5 separate regions of the Homo sapiens genome follow, and all the other regions are linked to region 1. The links are contacts of gene promoters, found by promoter capture Hi-C in human tissues and cell types (Jung and others, 2019). All regions are on one chromosome and are shown on one strand. Each heading gives the region's core, a stretch centred on a gene start or on the middle of the fragment in contact. The rest is flanking DNA. Distances are from core to core; before and after follow the strand shown.

The links. Contacts are between HindIII fragments. The study calls those that stand out against the background at their distance.
Region 2: a fragment that was not itself captured here is called in contact with the fragment with the promoter of SALL4 in region 1 in 1 of the 25 tissues and cell types used here (H1 embryonic stem cells).
Region 3: a fragment that was not itself captured here is called in contact with the fragment with the promoter of SALL4 in region 1 in 1 of the 25 tissues and cell types used here (hippocampus).
Region 4: a contact is called between a fragment that was not itself captured here and the fragment with the promoter of SALL4 in region 1, in 1 of the 25 tissues and cell types used here (mesendoderm cells).
Region 5: a fragment that was not itself captured here is called in contact with the fragment with the promoter of SALL4 in region 1 in 1 of the 25 tissues and cell types used here (mesenchymal stem cells).

Annotation. Positions count from the first base shown.
Region 1 is chr20:51,801,237-51,803,936 of GRCh38, forward strand. SALL4 (spalt like transcription factor 4) reads right to left here and starts at 1,285. Exons shown (of 4, transcript NM_020436.5): 1 at 1,043-1,285. The coding sequence starts at 1,172. RefSeq lists enhancers at 1-346, 990-1,631. The HindIII fragment of the contact is 8,319 bases long and covers 1-2,700 here.
Region 2 is chr20:51,983,118-51,985,817 of GRCh38, forward strand. No RefSeq gene overlaps it. Among named protein-coding and RNA genes, the nearest start is that of LINC01429, 120 kb to the left of the region's middle. The HindIII fragment of the contact is 7,832 bases long and covers 1-2,700 here.
Region 3 is chr20:51,667,948-51,670,647 of GRCh38, forward strand. ATP9A (ATPase phospholipid transporting 9A (putative)) reads right to left here. Exons shown (of 28, transcript NM_006045.3): 13 at 2,050-2,162. Among named protein-coding and RNA genes, the nearest start is that of ATP9A, 99 kb to the right of the region's middle. The HindIII fragment of the contact is 5,724 bases long and covers 1-2,700 here.
Region 4 is chr20:52,001,726-52,004,425 of GRCh38, forward strand. No RefSeq gene overlaps it. Among named protein-coding and RNA genes, the nearest start is that of LINC01429, 140 kb to the left of the region's middle. The HindIII fragment of the contact is 5,550 bases long and covers 1-2,700 here.
Region 5 is chr20:52,023,114-52,025,813 of GRCh38, forward strand. No RefSeq gene overlaps it. Among named protein-coding and RNA genes, the nearest start is that of LINC01429, 160 kb to the left of the region's middle. The HindIII fragment of the contact is 9,290 bases long and covers 1-2,700 here.

The DNA.
Region 1 (2,700 bases), core at 35-2,534:
TGGGAACAGAGTTGGCCCCGCCGTTCCTGGCGCGGCTGGGGTCCCGAACTCCCCTCGATCTGGGAAACGCTGGCCGCGGAAGCGTGGGCCAGGTCAGCCGCGGGAGTTCGCTCTGGCCCCCCACCTCTCCCCTTTCACACCCAAGCGCAAATGTGGAAAGCCGAGCGCTCCAGAAAAGCCACGCAAAACGGGAGGCCGGTGCACCCCAGTGGGGCTGCCGCGCGCCCGCCACCCCGGCCACTGGGGGCTCGCACCCTCGGGCTTGCCGCGGTTATTTTTAGGAAGTCGGAAATCAAAGATGGCTGGAGGTCAGGCCCCGAAAGGTTAGGGCGAAGATCGGCAGGCGGCGCAGCCCGGGCAGAAAAGGCGAAATCCAGAAAAGAAAAAAATTTTAAAGGGAAACATTGAGCCCTCCTCCCCCACCTCTCTGGGCCCTCCAATCCCCTGCGCAGCGCGGGTGGCCCGCACCCCAGCTCCTGAGGGTGGGGAGAGGTCGCGCCCCCTCCCCCCACTTGGCCCGGGAGGGGCGCGTGCAACAGATCGTCCTCCTCCGGGGGGTCTTCCAGGGGTGCGCCCCTCCTCCAGCCTCCAAGAAAAGCCCCAAGGGGCTGGTGGAGAGGGTGGGGATCCCCCGGGGTTCTTTCTTTTGAGAGCGACGCGAGGGAGGGGGACCTAAGTTACAAGGGGGGGGGGTAACACCAGTGAGGGGAGTGGAACCAATTAAGTGAGGGGCAGAGGACAAGGAGAAGGGAACCTTTCGGGAGCGAGAACAGAGGAGCGAGTGGGGGTCAATTTTACAATTAGGGGAGAAAGCTGGGGGTGAAACTTACACAAGAGGGGAGAAGAGGAAAAAAGTGTGAAATGTGCAAAAGGCGGGGTGGTGGGGAGAGGAGGAGACCTCTCCTCCCGGGCACTGAGCCCCCAAATCTCGGCTCCTGAATTTGCGCTGGACGCCGCCCGCTCCCCGAAGCCTGCGCCCTCGAGGATCCCGCGTACGTCCGGGAAGCTCCCCTCCCCGGGCGGGCGCCCCAGCCCCACTCACCCAGCTCCCCCGCCGCGGGCGCCGCTGGGGCCGCATCTGCAAACTCCGGGGTCTGCTGCTGCGGCTGCTGCTCGCCCTGGTCCTCCTCCGAGTTGATGTGCTGGGGTTTCGCCTGCTTGCGCCTCGACATGGTGCGAGCATCGGGGCGCCGGGAGAGCCGCAGTTATTTGCCCTCTCCGCCACAAATTCCTGGAGTTGGGAAATTTACCCCCCTTCGGCCGGAACGCGCATGTCCCAGTAATTATTATTATCAATAATGCATTGCGATTTATCATGAGCCCTGACAGCTGATTGGCCTGGGTCCAAGACCTCAGAGATCATTTAAATAAGCCCTCATTGATCAGGGAGGGGTGAGGCATTCTGGGCTTTGTAGTCCGGGCCTACTTGTGACAAAGGCGTGTTCATCAGGGGAGCGCAGCTAATTAGCATCCGGGCTCAGATTGGCTGGGGCGGGGACGAAATCAGAGGGGGACCCATCCTTGCTCCAGCTATCTCAGTCCTTGGAGAGGAAAAGAAAATGGGGAGAAATGCGTACTCATTAAAAAGTAGGAGCTTACGTAGAAGTTTTGGAACGGCTTTATTTGGTAGTTACTTGCTCCAAAGATTACTTGGTAAGGTTGATGTCCACCAGCCGAGAAGGGAGATCTCTTCACAGTGGAATATTTTGGCTCAGTTTTCACATCTACACGCACACACATTCCCCCAAACCTGAGATGTGACCCGTGTCCCCTCCCATCTTTTTGATTAAAAATGTTTAAGTTGAGTCTCGAGATAACTGAAGAATGATGAATGGTGGTGTTTTCAGCCCTCCCACCCATCTCAACTCTTAAAGTGAGCTCGGAACTTCCAAAATTTCAGATACCCCACCACCACCATGACTTACCTCCTTTAAAAGCTGATTAATAGCCTCCAGGATTCCTGTTCACAAAGACTGGTTTGTGGTTACAATGCAAACCTTGATTTTTTTTTAACTTCAAAATGACTGGCTACTAAATATAGAAATGGCAAATGATAAGCAAGCATAGTCAGAGATAATATCAAAACAGCAAGCAATTGCATTTTTTTCCCCAGGAGCCATAAATGCCTGATAACATCATATTTTATTACTGAGACAATGCTCTTGCATCTCCCATGGAATGGCAATGGGGCACTGTCACAGTATCTGGTTGTTACTAATCACTATTGGAATTTTTTTGTGCAATACACACATTATTACAGAAAAGGTGTATCGTTCAAAGTGATTGTATCATTGACACATGATGCCTGGAATTTTTTAAAGTGGGGCTTGTGTGTGTGTATATGATATATTACATGTATACACATTTATACCGTAAATTCATGTATACTTAATTTGGCTAACTGCTTTACACAATGTACATGCTCAATAAATGTTAAATGAATGATGAAATCATCAACCTGCTAAGTCTTTGATTGGTCTTTCCATAACTGCTCTGGGCATGCGTCTTTGTTTGGCATTTACTTCATTGTAAGGGACTGTGCAGATATAAACCCTCCCTCCACATTTGTGCATTGCATTCTCTTGATTAGTTATTCATCACGTTCCCAGCTTGTAAACTCATCAGGAATACAAGCAAAATGGAATGCTGGGCTCATCAATGTGTTCACCTGGGTATTTGGACAACCCAAGGCAGAAAATA
Region 2 (2,700 bases), core at 141-2,640, 180 kb after region 1:
ATCCCTTGACCTCAGGAGTTGGAGGTTGCAGTGAGCTGAGACTCCGTCTCAAAATAATAATAAATAAATAAATAAAATAAAATTCTAGGGAAGCAGTCTAATCTGCTAAAGGCTGTGCAGCTGGGGCTTGCTGTCTGTTCAACAAGGGAAATTAGTTAAGTGTGGAGAGGTGATAAAGATCTATTAGCACCAAACAGAGACTTTCTCCTTAATGTAATCCGAAAGATTGAAGATGAACCCCTGTAGATTTATTGTGTTTTTTTTTTTTTGAGACGGAGTCTTGCTCTGTTGCCCAGGCTGGAGTGCAGTGGTGCGATCTTGGCTCACTACAAGCTCAGCCTCCCGGGTTCACGCCATTCTCCTGCCTCAGCCTCCTGAGTAGCTGGGACTACAGGCGCCCACCAGCGTGCCCGTCTAATTTTTTGTATTTTTAGTAGAGACGGGGTTTCACCATGTTAGCCAGGATGGTCTTGATCTCCTGACCTTGTGATCCACCTGCCTCGGCCTCCCAAAGTGCTGGGATTACAGGTGTGAGCCACTGCGCCCAGCCTATTTATTGTTATTTTATTTATTTTTATTTTTTTGAGACAAGGTCTTGCTCTCCTGCCTCAGCCTCCCAAGAAACTGGGATTACAGGTGCGCACCACCATGCCCGGCTAATTTTTGTATTTTAATAGAGATGAGGTTTCACCATTTGCTGAGACTGGTCTCAAACTCCTGGACTCAACCGATCCTCCTACCTCAGCCTCCCAAAGTGCTGGGATTACAGGCATGAGCAACCACACCAGGCCTTATAGCATTATTTAATGCCACATCCATGCACCATCTAAATTATCTAGCTTATGGACAATAATAATCTTCAGACCACACCTTGCAGCCATTCCTCACTTTGGGGAAACTGGCACTGCCAGAGTTTCTCAAAGCATTTTCCATAGTGATTTGATAGGCATTAAACTGATCTCCTAATCCAAGACTTTTTTCAATCCTTATGCACTGAATGAAGAACAGTTTCACTTTTTTAGGACCAAAGATTGTTTACCAATAACTTACCTAATATTAAAATATGGTTTTAATGCCCATTTGCTTTAGGGCAAATAGGAGGGTTATAAAACCTCACTGGATGGATCCAAGAGGAGAAAAAAAAAGATTGGCTTTAAGGGAAAAACAAGAATGCCTAATTAGCTTTTTGTTTTGTTTGGGTGACATCACATGTATCATTAGGCTTAGAAAGTTCATTTGCCACCTTATTTGTATGAGTTTTTGAGTTCCTTCCATATCTATTTTCCTGTATTGGGGCTTTTTTTTTTTTTTTTTTTTTTTTTTGAGACGGAGTCTCACTCTGTGGCCCAGGTTGGAGTGCAGTGGCATGATCTCGGCTCACTGCAACCTCTGCCTTCAGGTTCAAGCGATTCTCCTGCCTCAGCCTCCCAAGTAGCTGGGACTACAGGTGCGTGCCACTATGCCCAGCTAATTTTTGTATTTTTTAGTAGAGACAGGTTTCACCATATTGGACAGTCTGGTCTTGAACTCCTGAACTCGTGATCTGCCCGCCTCGGCCTCCCAAAGTGCTGGGATTACAGGTGTAGGCCACCGCGCCCGGCCGCGTTGGGGCTTTTAGAATTGAATTTACTGTCTGTGAGAGTTCTCTTCTATTTCAATTTTAGGGCTAAAGAATGTGGTTTTTTTTCCCTCCAGGCAAATGAGATTAAATAAATATTTAAATTTTGTGTGAAGTTTATTTAACATTTTCCACTCTTTGCTATTGCTTAAGTGCAAAGTTTTGTCTTTTTTTAAACATTATAATTGCTACTTAGAATTCTAAGCTGTAATTTTGCTGTTATGTAAATTACACAACTTCAGTAGTAAAACCAAGCAAATAGTATTTATTCCTTCCTCTGCCTTGGAAACTGATTCCTTCTGAAAATAATTGCAGAAACTAATGAAAGCAAGATCCAGTTCCTGCCTAGATTTGGCTGGTCTGATTTTAAGCCACTCCCCACAGGAAATAACAGATAAAATGATGCAATACTAGCTAGCATTCCTGGCTGTTTCTGACAATCCAGGAGCTATGTGACTAATATATCAAGTGAAAAAAATATTTCCTTGATTAAAGTCATAATAACATATTATGTGTAATAACACAGGGAGTATAGATGACTCAGATTCCAGGAATAATAGAAATTGGTGGCTCAGCAACTTAAAGCAGCTAGAAAGGATTGTTATGCCACATGGGGGTTGGAGAAGGGCTTGCCAATTGCACACTGAAGTTAAACAAAAGCCTAACTTAATTTTTATTCCTGGTTAAAAAAAAGTCTATTATGTACATCCAGCCAAAAAACCAGTGCCTTAAACAAGATAAATGCGTATTTTCTCTCAATTAAACACTACATAGGTAGTCTAAGGCTTCAATGACTCTCCTTGGTCCCAAGCTGCTTCTTTTTTAATTTTTTTGAGATGGAGTCTCGCTCTGTCGCCCAGGCTGGAGGGCAGTGGCGCGATCTCGGCTCCCTGCAAGCTCCGCCTCCCGGGTTCACGCCATTCTCCTGCCTCAGCTTCTGGAGTAGCTGGGACGACAGGCGCCCACCATAACGCCCGGCTAATTTTTTGTACTTTTTAGTAGAGACGGGGTTTCGCCATGTTAGGCAGGATGTCTCAATCTCCTGACCTCGTGATCCGCCCGCCTCAGCCTCCCAAAGTGCT
Region 3 (2,700 bases), core at 56-2,555, 130 kb before region 1:
AGTCCGAGCTACTTGGGAGGCTGAGATGGGAGGATTGCTTGAGCCCAGAAGTTTGAGGCTGCAGTGAGCTGTGATTGCACCACTGCACTCCAGCCTGGGTGACAGAGTGAGACCCTGTTACAAAAGAAGGAAGGGAGGTGGGGGGGGGGGGGGGCGGAAGGGCTGGGAGTGGGCGAGGGGCTGGGGGAGGGGAGGGAGGGTAAGGAAAGGAAGGGAAGAAAGGGAGAAGGAAAAAAAAAAAAAAGGCCGAAGGGGTGATCTAGTGATCGGGTGGGAGCAGGTACTGGAGAAGGGGCAGTGGCTGTCAGCTGGGGTGACGAGGGTACCAGGATGGAGGGCGTGGTGTGCACTAAGACAAGCAGCCCTGGGAGAGAATAGGTTTAGGAGATGAGGGAAGAAAGTCAGGAGGGGTCCCAGGTACAGCATCCTTATGAGCCACATGCAGCAATGCCAAACATTCGGCTACGTTATAATCCAAAGCTCCAGGTCAGGCCTAGAGATGGAGATGGAGACAGAGCCATCAGCATCCACAGAGCGATGGAAGCAGGGTGAGGGGCCATCCGGGGAACAACATAACAGAGTCCAGCACCGAGCCCCAGAGACACCAACCCCAAATCACCACACAGAGGAAGACGGTCAAAGAGACAGAAAGGAAACGGGGGCTGTGCGGCTCATCCTCCCTGTCCAGGGAAGTTCCTCGTGATTTCTTAATAGTGCTAAAGTACATCTTTGAAAAAGGTCCATGGATCCATTTGGAGACCAGCCATGACGCCTCCCCATGGAGCCTGGAACAGCAACAAGGGCTTTGTTGCTGGTTGTAGATGATGACAAGAACTGTGTCAAGTCAGCTGTTCTAACTTAACATCCACTCCCACTGTCACACTGTCCCCTGCTCTGCCATTTTCAGGAGACAGCCTGGAAATCCAGCCCACTGACAAATGTTCCAGAAAATTAAATGTCAGTTATGACCGTATCAAGAAGTATTCAGGGATTCTGCCTTTAACCTGTATACAGAGATAATTCATTCATATTTCTTACTGGTCTTCTGACTATGGGAATGTTCTCTATTTCGACGAATTTAAGCAAAATATGACCTCCTTATTCTCTTGTTATCTCCAAACAAGTGCTGCAACATGGAGCTGGTCTAACGCGGTCTGGCTCAGCCTTGGATGTGCCTCAGAATTAGCAAGGGGTGTGTTTGTCTTACTTTTAAAACCCAAAGCCACGCCCTGCCCTAAGTCTTAATGAGTAAGAATCTCCAGGGTATCAAGCCCAAATAAATGTCTCGTTTTTGTTCTGTGTTGTTTTGAAACTCCACCAGCAATTCTGACACACAGCCAAGATGGGGACCCACCGGTCTAACACTTTAGGAATATTAGGATATTTGCCAGTAATACTTTCTCTGAAAAGTGACTGGTTTTGGGAAACTTGGTAGGAAAAATAAAGGTAGGAACAGATAAACTGCAAGTTATCTCTGATGAACTAATTTCTTCCTCGTGATTGTTGAGTTGAATGTAGATGAGAAACTAAAGGTAATCAGTAACGTCATGATTATTTCACAAGCAGACCATTTGTTATTGGTGCTCCGGGTCATAGCCAGGGAAAGGGAAAACATCAACGTGGTCGTAAACTTGAAGTATAATCAACCAGCAGGTTCCTTCTGGTTCTATTTATTGGGCATATAATTTTCTCACAGGTTTTTCCTAATGTCCATCAGCACTTCAGCAGAGCAGATTAGCCCTGAAGATAGGGAAGATGGGGAAGGACCCCAAATGCAATTTTATTCAAAGTGTAAAGGAAGTGTGGGTGTCATGGGTATAGAAGGGAGGTATTGGGGAGTGACTGCTGATGGGTAGAGGGCTTCTTTTTGGGGTAAACATAAAATCGATTGCAGTGACAGTTGCTCAACTCTGAATATGCTTAAAAAAAAACAATGAATTGTACTCTTGAAATGGGTGAATTGTACGGTATTGTGAATTACATCTCAATATAGCTGTTAAAAAAAAAAAGTCAAAGAATTGTTTTGGGTGTTGAAATGGAAGGCTTTACCTGGGTGTAAATGCTGAAAATGTGGCTTTGTACTTCGTCCATTGAGTCGAGGCCGTAGGCTACTGTTCCGAGATGGAGCCGTTTGAAAATCATCTCGTTCTGGGTAAGAGTGCCTAAAACACAAGACAAATGAGTGGCCGGCCTGTCTCTCAGGATGTTTGTTATTATTAACAGTAATGACAGCTGCCATCTTTGGAGAGTTTGCCCTATGTCACACACTGCAGTCAGTACTGTCCCTGCTGGGGAAGACACCTGCAGCATTTTGCCTGCCTAGAATCCCATTCCCCTTTTGAAAATGGCTTCCTAGCTTTCCCAGGGGAAATTAACCACACCATGCCCATTACCTAAGGTGGCCCAAGAGGACTGTCAATCAGGGGCCTGGCCCATTCCGTTGGCCAAGAGGGTGACAAATGACATACACTAGAGCAATCAGATTCTATCTCGAAGGATTCTGACCCTTGAGTAGAAAGATACATCCCTAATGGCAGAGCCCTACAGAGACCACCTGGAGGGTCCTAATGCTGACTTAACCAGAACTTTCCTGGTGGCTCTCCTTCCAGAAACCTCATTTTTCTCTGATTTGGTGAGCCGCCCAGGATCTTTGCATTAGCTTCCCTTCTACCCCATGGACATTAAGCAGTAGAGATGAGG
Region 4 (2,700 bases), core at 110-2,609, 200 kb after region 1:
TATAATAGCCTGAATGTAACATGGTAGTCTGGGTTTGATCCTAGACAAGGATATTAGTGGAAAAACTGGGGAAATCCAGGAAGCCTGGAGTTTAGTTAATAGTCTTTGTCCAATATTAATTTCTTAGTTTGGACAAATGTACCCTTGGTAGGCAAGATGTTACTGTTAGGGGAAGTGAGGTGACAGGAGCTCTCTGTATTAACTTTGCAACTTTTCTATACTTCTAACAATTATTCCAGCTAAAAAGTATATTTTAAATGAGTGTTGAAGGCTATTTTTCAGATCTGTAAACACACTCCCAATGCGGTTAGGCAAACATGGGAAACACCTGGCCATGGCCACATTATGGTAAAAAGAAAAAAAAGATCTCTGTGATCCTTCTGCTGGACAAAAGGGTATATTTAGCCTCAGATTTTTTGCGGTGACCTTTGCATTCTGAAATGAATTAGAGGTTTACGTGTCAGAATGTAAAGAGCAGGAAACCAGGAAGTTGATGGGGAACGACTTTCCTGTTGTATTTCACTTGTTTACATACAGCAGCATCACCGAGAGCAGAGATTTTGCTAGATTATGTTGACATCACATATCCCTGATCCACCACTGGGGGCTGAAAGCAGCATGCACCACCCCCAGCCAAACTGCTGGAAATTCCTGCATGAAATTTCAATCGCATGGTTTAGCTGTATTATTATTATTATTATTAGCTGGGTTATTATTGTTATTATTAGCCGTATTATTATTATCATTATTTTAGCTGAGTTATCTTAATTTGCTCTTTTTCTCTGGCTATTTTGATCTGAAATGAATTACTTATCTTTTCTCTTGTGGGCAGTAAAGAAGTTCTTTTTGTCTCAAATACAATCTAAGATAAATTTTGGAAAGCAAACCATGCTCCTTGACAAACAACTTCGTGTTCACCTCTCTTCATGGTAAACATTGGAAATGTGAACATCTCTGTTTGTCTCTCGTTTGTTCTTTAACAAATGTAACATTTTCAATACAGATAACAAAAAGTCCAATTTCAGAGAATTCTGCCTATCTAGCTCACCCCTCTATACCAGGATCATCAGCATCAGACACTCATATTTGTAGGATAGACAAATGAAGAGGAAGAAAATGTCATATAATATTCTTGCATTTAAGATCTTTAGGAAGGATAAAAGCATATTTCTCTGCAGGAATGTTAAAGTAGCATATTTGACAATGTGATTACAGGAGAGTATGTGTTGCCTTTAATATTCGTTTTTTAGGAATAGTCTTTATTCTAAGCCATTTCCATGTTAATTTGAGGAAGAGGTTATTTTCCACCTTATCACTCAAATCTGACGATGTTTGGCTTCTCAGAAATATCAAAATGCTTACATTTTGTTTTCATTCGTGAAACAAATGTATGGGTTTTGGTTGGGCTTGGACTCAAATGGCATTTTAAAACAGGAGCATATGTTTCGGGAGCAATTAGCGATTGTTTAATATAACGACCCTGCAGGCTGGAAAGGCTGCAGGTCAGAATTGTTAACAGGCAAAGCAATGAAAAATAGTAAAGCATTAGCAGATAGCGTAAATAGTCAAATTTGACCTCCAAAGGTCAAGAGAGAACTAAATAATTTGGTCGCAGCACTGACTGATTTAAATCAATGCAATCCCAATTTCCTTTTTTGCCGGTTTGCCTTTGGTATTCCACGGTCTAGTACTCGCCAGGAGTCAGGAGAGAGAACAGGGTAGGGTCTACTCAGTGATATAATTTTACTAAATGTGGGTGGTTTCGAGAGAAAAAATAGCCAAAAGTATTTCAAGGACCAAATGAAATTATTTAAACAGAACGCCATTGTGTCTGTCCTCTTAACTACTTGGTTTTGTTTCTCTAAGGATGATTTATGATGGTAACACCGATACAAATACATAATTAACCATGGGAGCATTTTGCATCTCAGGTTTCCCACATTTTTTCTCATTTGTAGGCTTCTTAGATTTAAAATTATACCTTTACCCTATGAAACTGAAAAATCAGCAAAATTCGTAAATTGCTAGACCAAATAAGTTTTTATCTTTTTTAAAGTGTGAAAAAATGATCCCCTGAATTCTTTTGGATTTCTACCTAATTTTTTTTTTTTAGTGGAATGATTCCCTCCCTCTTGACTGCTTCTGTCTTCTATTTTTTCATGTAGGACTCTTCTTCGTCATCCCTCACATAGATAATATGTGGCTTACTCAAATTTATTTTTAAGGTACTATATCCTGTTTTGATCAGGAAAAGTATATTTTAAAGAAAAAAAAATCTTTTGGTGATTACAAAATCACTTTAAGACCCAGGGGGAACTATGCCTCAGTGACAAAACAAATTTGCCACAAATCATTGTACAAAAGAACAGCAGGACCTAAGCCTAAACTCGGGGACCGCTCCCATTCATCTTTCATTTGTTTTGGAAACTCCACCCTCCTCCTGCCATGTTCAATATCTAATTGGCATTCTGACCCTTCAGATAACTCAACATCTGCTACTCTGATGCATCTTGGAAACTCTTTGTTCCCGTAAGGCGGAGTTCAAGGGGCTCTCTTCACTGATACACAAGATTCATGCATGCTATTGTGTACGCAGCTTCTGGTGCTGAATGGAGACAAAACTTTTGCAAGCTAATATGAAAAATGAAGTGACTCTCATATTCTAACCAAATCATCTTCAGCAGGTTTAAAATTATGCAT
Region 5 (2,700 bases), core at 159-2,658, 220 kb after region 1:
AAGCTCACAGGCTTTTCTTTTTTTTTTTTTTTGAGACAGAGTCTCGCCCTGTCGCCCAGGCTTGGAGTGCAATGGCGTGATCTTGGCTCACTGCAACCTCCACCTCCCGGGTTCAAGCTATTCTCCTGCCTCAGCCTCCCGAGTAGCTGGGATTACAGGCGTGCACCTCCACACCCAGCTAATTTTTGTATTTTTAGTAGAGACTGGGTTTCACCATGTTGGCTATGCTGGTCTCAAACTCCTGACCTCGTGATCCACCCGCCTCGGCCTCCCAAAGTGCTGGGATTACAGGCGTGAGCCACTGTAAAGGATTGTTGTGAAAAGTAAGATTATGCATATGCTTGATAAATGTGAACTGTTATTATTATCTTCATGTCTCAGTTTCATCACCTCTAAAATGGGTCCATGGACGGATTAAATAAGGTCATCTGGGTAAAGTACTTGGCTCATACATGTTACTTGGGATCAGTATTATTCCCCGGATGTACAAAATACTTGTCATTCATTATAACAGTCACGACTGTGCCCAGGGGTGAGCAAAAGCCTCAGTGTCCTCAAGGGTCCCAGGATCAGCCACAGAATTTGCAGGGCATGGTGCAAATGAAAACATAGGGCCTCTTGTTAAAAATGTTATTAAGAATTTCAAGATGGCCACAGCAGAGCATTAAGCCAAGCTAGAACCTGTCTGAGCTCGGGGCCCTGTGTAACTGCAAGGGTTGCATGTCCCAGAAGTTGGCCCTGTCCTCTCTCAAGGTCACCTGGGCAGAAAGCTGTTGTTTGGGTCTTGAAGGATGAGTTTTGTAAAGGCCCCTTGCCCTGCCCCTTCACACATGTGCATTCTCATTCTTCTAACTAATTCCAGGACCTTGGAATTCCATCTGACCCCTAAGGGCTGCTCCTAATGCAATCCGGGGGAACACTAGATTCAGAGTCAGCCCCCAAATCAAAGGCCAGCACAAAACCCTGGATAAATTACAGCTGTTATAAAGAAGCCACCTCTTCACCCTTGTTCTCATTTTCCTTGCATTTATAGTCACAACTCAATGAAGCCATCAACATTTGCTATTCATAAACTTGTTGGATAAGCAAGGCTGATGGGCTCACAGTGATAACTAGAGGCACTAAAGAAAGTGACAAGCTTCAAATTGGAGGCCAAGCCATACTTCTAAATGTACAGCATATTTTAAAAAAGAATGTGTGATGGTTTATATTGATGTGGCTCAGAATAACATATTTCTATAAGAAACTGTTAAATGAATTTGCAAAAAGGCTAAGTTGGCTTATGTGCTATATGTATGCGTAGACAAACATCATGGAAATACTAGAGTTTTCTCTGTTGTAAATGCTGCTGCTGTCCAACATGAATCGGCACCATGTCCTCCTTGCATCAGCTGGCATCCCTGTAGCATTGATCACATACATGCCAGGTCTCCTGCTGGCATCTTTAAAGGACTATCTCATTTAGTTTTCTCAACCCCTGTATGGCTAGTAAGCTACCCAAGTTCACTTAAAAAGTGGGTGAGCTAGGTTTACAACCCACCTGTCTGACCACAAAGCCTATGTTCTAAGCCACTATCCAAAATAGTCACCCAGGGCCAGGTGCAGTGGTTCACACCTGTGATACCAGCACTTTGAGAGGCCAAGGCTGAAAGATTGCTTGAGCCTAGGAGTTCAAGACCAGCCTGGACAACATAGTGAGATCTCATTTCTACCAAAAAATTTAAAAATTAGCTGGGTGTGGTGGTGTGTGCCTGTAGTCTCAGCTACTTGGGAGGCTGAGGTGGGAGGATCACTTGAGTCTGGGAGGTCAAGGCTGCAGTGAGCTGTGGTCGTGCCACTGCACTCCAGCCTGGGCAACAGAGTGAGACTTTGTCTCAAAAAAAAAAAAAAAAAAAATTACCCTGTCATATCGAGTGACAAAAAGAGATCAAGATACCAGAAAAATAATACAAATGTATTTAATAAAAACTGTACTAAGACCTTTACATCTCCTATTGGTGTTGTGAAGAAGGTCTGATTATTTATTTATTTTTTTGAGACGGAGTTTTGCTTTTGTTGCCCAGGCTGGAGTGCAATGGTGTGATTTCGGCTCATGGCAAACTCTGCCTCCTGGCAAACTCTGCCTCCCAGGTTCAAGTGATTCTTCTGTCTCAGCCTCTCCAGTAGCTGGGATTACAGGTATGTGCCACCACGCCCGGCTAATTTTGTATTTTTAGTAGAGATGGGGTTTCTCCATGTTGGTCAGGCTAGTCTTGAACTCCCGACTTCAGGTGATCCACCTGCCTTTGCCTCCCAAAGTGCTGGGACTACAGGCCTAAGCCACTGCGCCTGGCTAGGTCCGATTATTATTATCCCGATACGGCAGATGAGCAAACTAAGGCTTGGGGAGGTTGAACAACAAAGGCTGTGCAGCTAGTGATGGATTTAGAGACAGCCTGTAGAAGCAGTTAGAGCTTCAGAAAACAAACAAGAGACCTTTTTTTTTTTTTTGAGATGGAGTCTCACTCTGTCGCCCAGGCTGGAGTGCAGTGGCATGATCTCAGCTCACTGCAAGCTCCGCCTCCTGGGTTCATGCCATTCTCCTGCCTCAGCCTCCCAAGTAGCTGGGACTATAGGCGCCCGCCACCACACCCGGCTAATTTTTTGTATTTTTAGTTGAGACGGGGTCTCACCGTGTTAGCCAGGATGGTCTCGATTTCC